Regions from separate parts of the Homo sapiens genome. Here regions 2 and 3 are each linked to region 1. The links are contacts of gene promoters, found by promoter capture Hi-C in human tissues and cell types (Jung and others, 2019). All regions are on one chromosome and are shown on one strand. Each heading gives the region's core, a stretch centred on a gene start or on the middle of the fragment in contact. The rest is flanking DNA. Distances are from core to core; before and after follow the strand shown.

The links. The method cuts DNA at HindIII sites, captures the fragments that hold promoters and counts their contacts. A contact is called where the count stands out against the background at its distance.
Region 2: a contact is called between a fragment that was not itself captured here and the fragment with the promoter of ZNF467 in region 1, in 1 of the 25 tissues and cell types used here (lymphoblastoid cells).
Region 3: a contact is called between a fragment that was not itself captured here and the fragment with the promoter of ZNF467 in region 1, in 1 of the 25 tissues and cell types used here (spleen).

The regions. Positions count from the first base shown.
Region 1 is chr7:149,772,221-149,774,888 of GRCh38, forward strand. ZNF467 (zinc finger protein 467) reads right to left here and starts at 1,368. Exons shown (of 5, transcript NM_207336.3): 1 at 888-1,368. RefSeq lists a silencer at 811-990. The HindIII fragment of the contact is 33,741 bases long and covers 1-2,668 here.
Region 2 is chr7:149,141,883-149,144,550 of GRCh38, forward strand. LOC107986856 (a long non-coding RNA gene) reads right to left here. Exons shown (of 2, transcript XR_007060581.1): 2 at 1,082-2,668. It also overlaps a transcript of ZNF398 not described here. Among named protein-coding and RNA genes, the nearest start is that of ZNF398, 4.2 kb to the right of the region's middle. The HindIII fragment of the contact is 6,283 bases long and covers 1-2,668 here.
Region 3 is chr7:149,249,137-149,251,804 of GRCh38, forward strand. It overlaps ZNF212 (zinc finger protein 212), which reads left to right. Exons shown (of 5, transcript NM_012256.4): 2 at 1,023-1,412; 3 at 1,545-1,671. Among named protein-coding and RNA genes, the nearest start is that of ZNF212, 11 kb to the left of the region's middle. The HindIII fragment of the contact is 4,566 bases long and covers 1-2,668 here.

The DNA of each region.
Region 1 (2,668 bases), core at 118-2,617:
TTCCAGCCCTCCCCCACGTCTCCCCACCGCCCTCCCCCTCCCCCCTCCCTTCTGCAGCTCTCCTTCCCCTCCGAGGCCCCCGCCTCCCTTCCCCCTCTGTCTCCCCAGCAGGCTCCAGCTTCGCTTCCCTCCCCGTCCCCAGTCCCCAGAACCGCTCTTCCCCTCCCCCCTCCCAGGCTGCTTCCCAGCTCCCGGGTCCTCCGGCCCCCAAGCCTGGGGGTCTAGGGCTGACCCGCTCTCTCGGGACCTTCCCGCGGGCCCTGCCCTCCCCACTCCGTCTCCCCTCCGAACACCCCTCCGCGCCTCTCTTCTCCGCCGCGGCGCCCCCTCCCTATTTCTGCTCCCCTCGGACTTCTCACCCCTCCCAAGTTTTCCTCCCGACGGGACCCTCAGCTCCACCTCCCTGCCCCGCCGCCCTCCCAAGCAGCTCCGATCGCCGACTTCATTCCAGGTCCCGGCCCCCTCCCCAGCTCCGGGGCTCACCTGTCAGCGCCCTCCTCTCCCGCCCCTACCGAGTGGCCCGGTCCCCAGCGCCCGCTTCTTCCTCCCCTTCCCCCTCGGCCCCCTCCCACACTCCCTCTCTCCTCCCCTCGGGGCCCGTCGTCCCCCTTCCCACCTGCCTCCCGCCCGACCCCCTCCCAGCCCCCGCCCTTCCCTCCAGCCCCCCCGGTCTCCTCTACCCCCACAGCCCTCACCCTGCCCGCGCCGGCCTTGCCCTCCCTTCCCCCCAGCCCCCGACCTCCCCGGACCCGCGCCCCTCCCCCACGCCCGCCGTCCGCGCCCCTACCCCCGGGGCTGTCACCTGCGCGGAGCCGGCCGTGACCCAACCGCGGCGCTGAGGGAGACGCGGGCGGGGCCGCCTGCAGAGGAGCCTCCCCGGCCCTTACCTGGCTGGCCGGCCGCTCCGCCCGCGCCGCGGGGACCCAGGCGCCCGGGCCTCCTGCCCCGCCGGCTCTGCTCACAATGGCGCTCGCCGCCTGCAGCTCGGGTGCTGACGGCCTGAAAGACTGACAGACTGACAGCCCCGAAACTTCGCGGGGAGGAGAGGGATAGACGCGCGGGGAGTCGAAGCCGGGAAACGGCGCCTGCAAGGGAGGAGGGACCGAGGGAGCGGGCGGAGAGCCCCGGCGCACCGGGCTGGGGGAGGCAGGGGCAGGGGGTTTCAGGAGTGGGGTCCCAGGAGGGAGCACCGTGGGCTTAGGTGGGCAGGTGATGGTCCTAAGGCTCCGAGCCTGGAGTAGGTGTGGAAGTGGGAGCTCAGGACGGGGGAGGGGAGGGGAGGGGAGGGGAGGGTGATGGGAGAGGGGGTGGAGGAGGGCGAGGAGGCTGGGGAGGACAGGCACTCGGGCTGCGGGGAAGGGTGCCAAGGGAGGGTGCTCGCGGCCGCGGAGGGAGGAGCCGGGGAAAGGTGGAGCGCGAACGGGTGGGGGGGTGGCGGGGAGGAGTTGGGGGAACGAGGAGGGGCCGTGTCGGGGGGGAGCCAGCGAGTCGTGCGCTGCCGTCTCTAAGTCGCCGGTGCCAGCCGGGTGTGCAGCGCCGCGCTCCCGCGGGAGGACGGCCCGGGGGGTCGGTCTGGGAAACTCCGGCCCCGCCCCCATTCTCCACCCGGATTCCACCCCGATCCACCCAGACCCGCAGCCCCTCGCCTGGAGTCCCGAGGACCCGATTCGAAACCAGCCGCGGGAGCCGTGGGGGCAGGCGGGAGAGAGGGCTGGGCCCCTGTGCTTGCGAGAACGGGTCCTTCGAAGTAGAAACTGGGGAGAGGACTTTAAGCCAGGTCCCCTGGGAGAAGGCCGGGCCAGGTCGGGAGCTCCAGGGGGCAAGGCTGGGACGGGGCTGGGCGGAGATTCTGAGGGCGGGGTCCGGGGGAGGGTCTGGGAGGGGGCTGCAGAGAGGGGAGGGCTCTATGGGCGGGAGACGATTGCTGGGGGGCCTGCTGGCCCGGACACCACCTGGAGTTAGATGTGGAGGGCAGCCCTCAGCCCTCAGCCCTCAGCCCCAGCTCCTCAGGGGACTCCACTCGCCCTCCCTGCCCAGGTTACGAGGTTTCTCCTTGGCCTTGTTCCCGCTGCGCCCACTCCTGAAAGCTCCGGAGATGCTGAAGTCTGGACTGTTAGTTCCCGGTCTCCTCTCCATGAACTTTCTCCAAACCCCTGGGTTCCAGCTTCCTCCCTTCTGCCCCTTTACGGGAAAGGGTGACTGCAACTCGGGTCTCTTCCCAATCCCAGTGCTGCCTGATCAGCCCCGGTTTGAATCCAGAGCTGAGTGAGGCTGGGAAGGGGAGGGTGTGAATGGCCCTTGAGCTCCTGCTACCACAGCCCACCACAAGGATGAGTGCCTGGAAGAGCGCCCATCACTCGGGCTCAGCTGTGAAGGCTCCTCTGCCTCCAGGATGAAGGGAGCACCTGGAGTAGCATGTGTCACTGTGCGTGCTGGGGTGTGGCCGAGCACCTGTGCCGGTGTTGTGAGACTTACAGTGAGAGTGTGCATGTGTGTAAAACAGGAAAGGGGGGTGTCTGGGTGTGCGTGTGGCTCTTTCTGAGGACTCCAGAGCAGGAGTTGATCCCAGTCATCCGTGACCCCCTGAGAGACTCACTCTGGGCCCTTTTTTGGCCCTGGGACCAATGGTGAACCCAGGAGAAGGAGAGCCCGGCCCAGCTCTGGTTAA
Region 2 (2,668 bases), core at 110-2,609, 630 kb before region 1:
CCGGCCCTAATCCACAGACTTTAGAGCATGCTTTTAGTAAGACAAGTTATCATAGGTTGGCATCCATGAAGGCTGTTTTTGTTTAAGACAGGGTCTCGCTTTGCCACTCAGGCTGGAATGCAGTGGCACAGTCATGGCTTACTACAGCTCCAAACTCCTGGGTTCAAGCAATCCTCCCACCTCGACCTCCCAAAGTGTTGAGATTACAGAGGTGAGTCACCGTGCCTGGACTAATGTTTTTAGAGCTTGTAGAGATAATTGCTATAGACTGGTAACCATTTTCGGTTGAGATTTCCCCAAGATCTTATTCTAAATATTGATTTATTTTAGGAAACATTCCTAAAATATTTTTCCTGATTCATTTTCTGCTGTGCACCAAAAGGTTAATGAAATATTAAAAATGCTGCAATAAAATATTGAAAATGTCTTATATACCAGATATATACTGTATATATCTGTATATGTACCAGATACTGTATATATCTGGTATATAAGATATTTGGGGCTGGGAGTGGTGGCTCACGCCTGTAATCCCAGCACTTTGGGAGGCCGAGGCGGGCGGATCACGAGGTCAGGAGATCGAGACCATCCTGGCTAACACGGTGAAACCCCGTCTCTACTAAAAATACAAAAAATTAGCCGGGCGTGGTGGCAGGCACCTGTAGTCCCAGCTACTCGGGAGGCTGAGGCAGGAGAATGGCGTGAAGCCTGGAGGCGGAGCTTGCAGTGAGCCAAGATCGCGCCACTGCACTCCAGCCTGGGCAACAGAGCGAGACTCCGTCTAAAAACAAACAAACAAACAAAAAACCAGATATTTGGATATGAAGAATCACGCTTAACTTTTTATGTTTGACCATACAGAGGAGCAATTATTAATTCAACTGGGTTTCCATTTTCCCTACTTAATGAAAAATTCCTAGGTCTCAGTGAATCTGACTTTGAGAAAAATTTGTGGAATGTAAAATCAGTAAACGGAAACGCACGAACGTCGAATTTCCCATGGAAAAATACAGTAAAGGCTATGAGCACAAGCACACTATAGTTTGTTCCCATCTTCAGTTTTACATTCAGAAAACAGGTATAGCTTCATGTATGTTATTTTATTGATCGATGATTGATTAGTATAGTGGCATGATCTCGGCTCCCTGCAAACTCAACCTCCCAGGCTCAGGTGATTCTCCCACATCTAGCTTAATGTATTAATGATGTAATAGACAATTACTGGCCAGGCGCGGTGGCCAGAGCGAGACTCCATCTCAAAAAAGAAAAGAAAAGAAAATTACTGGCGGCAAGCAGGAACATTGTAGATTTTGAAACTGTCTTGTTTTACAAGATACTGAAGCAAGGTGGTGCAATTATTACGTCCTTCTAAAGCTGATCGGATAAAGGCTTTAATTTTGTAATTTTCAGAGAATATTACCAATGTAGCAAGATTTACCAATAACCAATGGTTGCTTGAAGACAAAAGAGTTTGTTGGAACTTGCTGAATAAATTGATGTGCCATCAGTGTATTTTTTACATCATACATGCTGAAAAAAATCTGTCCTTGATTCTGTGCAAAGGAAGATGCTGAAATTGGTGTGCATATGCAGGGAAAGTCAAGATGCAGATGGAAACTGGGATTATTTTGTTAACTCAAAAACCAATTGGCAGGGTGCGGTGGCTCACGCCTGTAATCCCAGCACTCTGGGAGGCCGAGGTGGGCAGATCACCTGAGGTCAGTAGTTCGAGACCAGCCTGGCCAACATGGTGATACCTCGTCTCTACTTAAAATACAAAATTAGCCCCCATGGTGGCGCATGCCTGTAATCCCAGCTACTTGGGAGGCTGAGGCAGGAGAATCACTTGAACCCGGGAGGCAGAGGTTCCAGTGAGCAGAGATTGCGCCATTCCACTCTAGTCTGGGCAACAAGAGTAAAAACTCCATCTCAAAAAACAAACAAACAACCCCCCAAAAAAGCCAATTAAATTGTTTCATAGTCACATTTCTAGATCCAAACTTTTAGGACAATTTTTTTCTCTAGTGATTATGTATAGCAGCAAGAGCAGACAAAAATATTATAAATTAAAAATAAGTTAGTACAACAACCTTACATCTGCTTCTGAAAATATTGTGCATCTTCTTTAAACAGTACACAAAAAGCTTCAGTCAGTGAAATTGCTTAATGAAATGCCAGTACCATCCAAAGAATTTTTAAGGCCAAGAATTAAATAGGAAGAATTTCTTGTCTTAATATATTCCTATTCAAGGAAGGAACATTTAATAAGTTGGTGGTAATATTACCATATTAAAGCAGAGAGGTAGCCTTGCTTTCTATGGAGCTCAGTTGGAAGTCTTATTTAGTAATACAAATGTCCCTGTTAAATGGCCATAGGAGCATCTGACAGAAATTGTTGTTCTTGCCTTATAACATCAAACTTGAAAACTTTACTACTTTTTTTTTGGAGATGGGATGTCAGTCTGTCGCCCAGGCTGGAGTGCAGTGGTATTATTACAGCTCACTGCAGCTTCAACCTCCCTGGCTCAAGTGATCTTACCTCAGCCTCCCGAGTAACTGGGTCGACAGGTGTGCATTACCATTTCAGGCTAATTTTTGTATTTTTTTATGGAGACAGGGTCCCACCAGGTTGCCCTGACTGGCCTTGAATTCTTGGGCTCCAACAATC
Region 3 (2,668 bases), core at 120-2,619, 520 kb before region 1:
CAGTAATTTTAGCTTCTATGACAGTGATTTTCCTACTGTCAGAGACAGCTCATTAAAGTGAAAATTATAAGGAAAATGTCAGTAGACTTAGTCACATCATTTCAGTAAATATTTTTTAAGGATTTATTCACCATCCCAGCTGCTAGAGTGCAAAGATGAATGAATTAGGTCTTGTAGGTCCTGCTAAGGAATTTTGTCTTTATTGTGGGGAGCCATTGAAAGTTTTCAAACGGGTGACATGATCAACTATGAAGTCTGGCAGGGATGTGGAAGCAAGATAAGATGTAAGTGACATCTTTTATCATATAGTCCAAAACATTAAATAAAAATAGGTTTAAAAATGAACACTGATACAGGAGTCTCAGAGAATATGCTAAGCATAAAGCATAGGTAACAGAACATACACGCTATAATTTCACTTTTGTTGAAAAAAAATAAACTAAAAGATGAAAAAAAACTTTAGAAATACACCAAAATTCAAACAGCTTCTTTCTTTCTTTTTCTTTTTTGAGACAGGGTCTCACTCTGTTACTCAGGCTGGAGTGCACTGGCACGATCTTGGCTCACTGTAGCCTCAACCTCCTGGGCTCAAACCGTCCTCCCACCTCAGTGCCCCAAGTACCTGGGACTACAGGCATGCATCACCATGCCTGGCTAATTTTTTGAACTTTTTTGTAGAGACAGGGTTTGCCTTGTTGGCCAGGCTGGTGTCAAACTCCTGAGCTAAAGTGATTCAGCTGCCTTGGCCTCCCAAAGTGCTGGGATTACAGTTGTGAGCCACCACGGCCAGCCCTAACAGCTTATTGTGTGTGAGAAGATTTTGTGTAATATTTTCTTTCTATTCTTCATCATTTTCCAACATTATTAATACAATATCTATGTATAATTTTTAGTATCAATAAAAGACATGCTTTTTTTTAATTAAAAGAAACTAGATAACTCTGAGCACTGATACACTTGAACACTGCTTTCTTTACTTGATGTTTGGAAGTGACATTGACCCTGTGTCTTTAATCCATCAGCACAGGAGAAAACGACGCTCCACACCTTTAACTTCTTCCACACTTCCTTCACAAGCAACAGAGAAAAGCTCCTATTTTCAGACCACCGAGATTTCACTCTGGACGGTGGTGGCCGCTATTCAGGCTGTGGAGAAGAAGATGGAGTCCCAGGCTGCCCGGCTACAGAGCCTGGAGGGGCGCACGGGGACAGCCGAGAAGAAGCTGGCTGACTGCGAGAAGATGGCCGTGGAGTTCGGGAACCAGCTGGAGGGCAAGTGGGCCGTGCTGGGGACCCTGCTGCAGGAGTATGGGCTACTGCAGAGGCGGCTGGAGAACGTGGAGAACCTGCTGCGCAACAGGAACTTCTGGATCCTGCGGCTGCCCCCGGGCAGCAAGGGGGAGGCCCCCAAGGTAGTCTCATTGAGGATTAAAAGTTAGAAGAGAAGGGGGAGCCAGCCCTTTAATATGTAAGCACCTCAGTTGCTGGCTTTTCTGTCATAGCTGTGAGTAGAAGCACTCATGGTGTGCCATTGGTGATTCCAGGTGTCCAGGTCACTGGAGAATGATGGCGTCTGTTTCACCGAGCAGGAATGGGAGAATCTGGAGGATTGGCAGAAGGAGCTCTACAGAAACGTGATGGAGAGTAACTATGAGACACTGGTCTCTCTGAGTGAGTAGCAGTTTTCTCCCTAGAATTCTGTCTCAGACATACTACAATTCCTGGCTGGCAGCCTGTAATTCAGACCACACCTGTGGCTCCTGTGGCTGTGGGTCCTCTGTCGGCCTGCACGGGCAGAGAAATGCCAGTCTCTAGGTCCTCCCATTTACAGACCTGCACGGGTGGAGAAATGCCAGTCTCTAGGTCCTCCCATTTACAGAGACTTTTGGAAAGCTCGCAGCATTGTGCCTTTTGTGTTTTTTTTTTTTTTTTCCTGTGGTCACATAGTCTGTTCTTGATAGTATTTTCTAATAAATAAAATGTCATATACCCTATAGTGTGATATGGCTAGGGTTCCTCATGTTGTTTTTTAATTTATTTTATCTTTTTTTTTTCTTTTTTTCTTTGAGACAGAGTCTTGCTCTATTGCCCAGGCTGGAGTGCAGTGGCACAATCTTGGCTCACTGCAACCTCTGCCTCACAGGTTCAAGCGATTCTCCTGCCTCAGCCTCTCGAGTAGCTGAAATTACAGGTGACTGCCACCACGCCCAGCTAATTTTTGTATTTTTAGTAGAAATGGGGTTTCACCATGTTGGCCAAGCTGGTCTTGAACTCCTGACCTCGTGATCTGCCCACCTCAGCCCCCCAAAGTGCTAGGATTACAGGTGTGAGCCACTGCGTCTGGCCTGTTTTATCTTTTTTTTTTTTTTTTTTTTTTTTGAGACTCTGTCACCTAGGCTGGAGTGCAGTGGTACGATCTCGGCTCACTGCAGCCTTGACAGCTTGGGCTCAAATGATTCTCCCACCTCAGTTTTCCGAGTAGCTGGGATTACAGGCACATGCCACTGCGCCTGGCTAATTTTTTAAATTTTTTGTAGAGACGTGGGTCTTACTGTGTTGCCCAGGCTGGTCTTGAACTTCTGGGCTCAAGTGATCCACCCACGTCGGCCTCCCAAAGTGCAGGGATTACAGGCGTGAGCCTCCGCACCTGGCCTCTCATGCTGTTTTT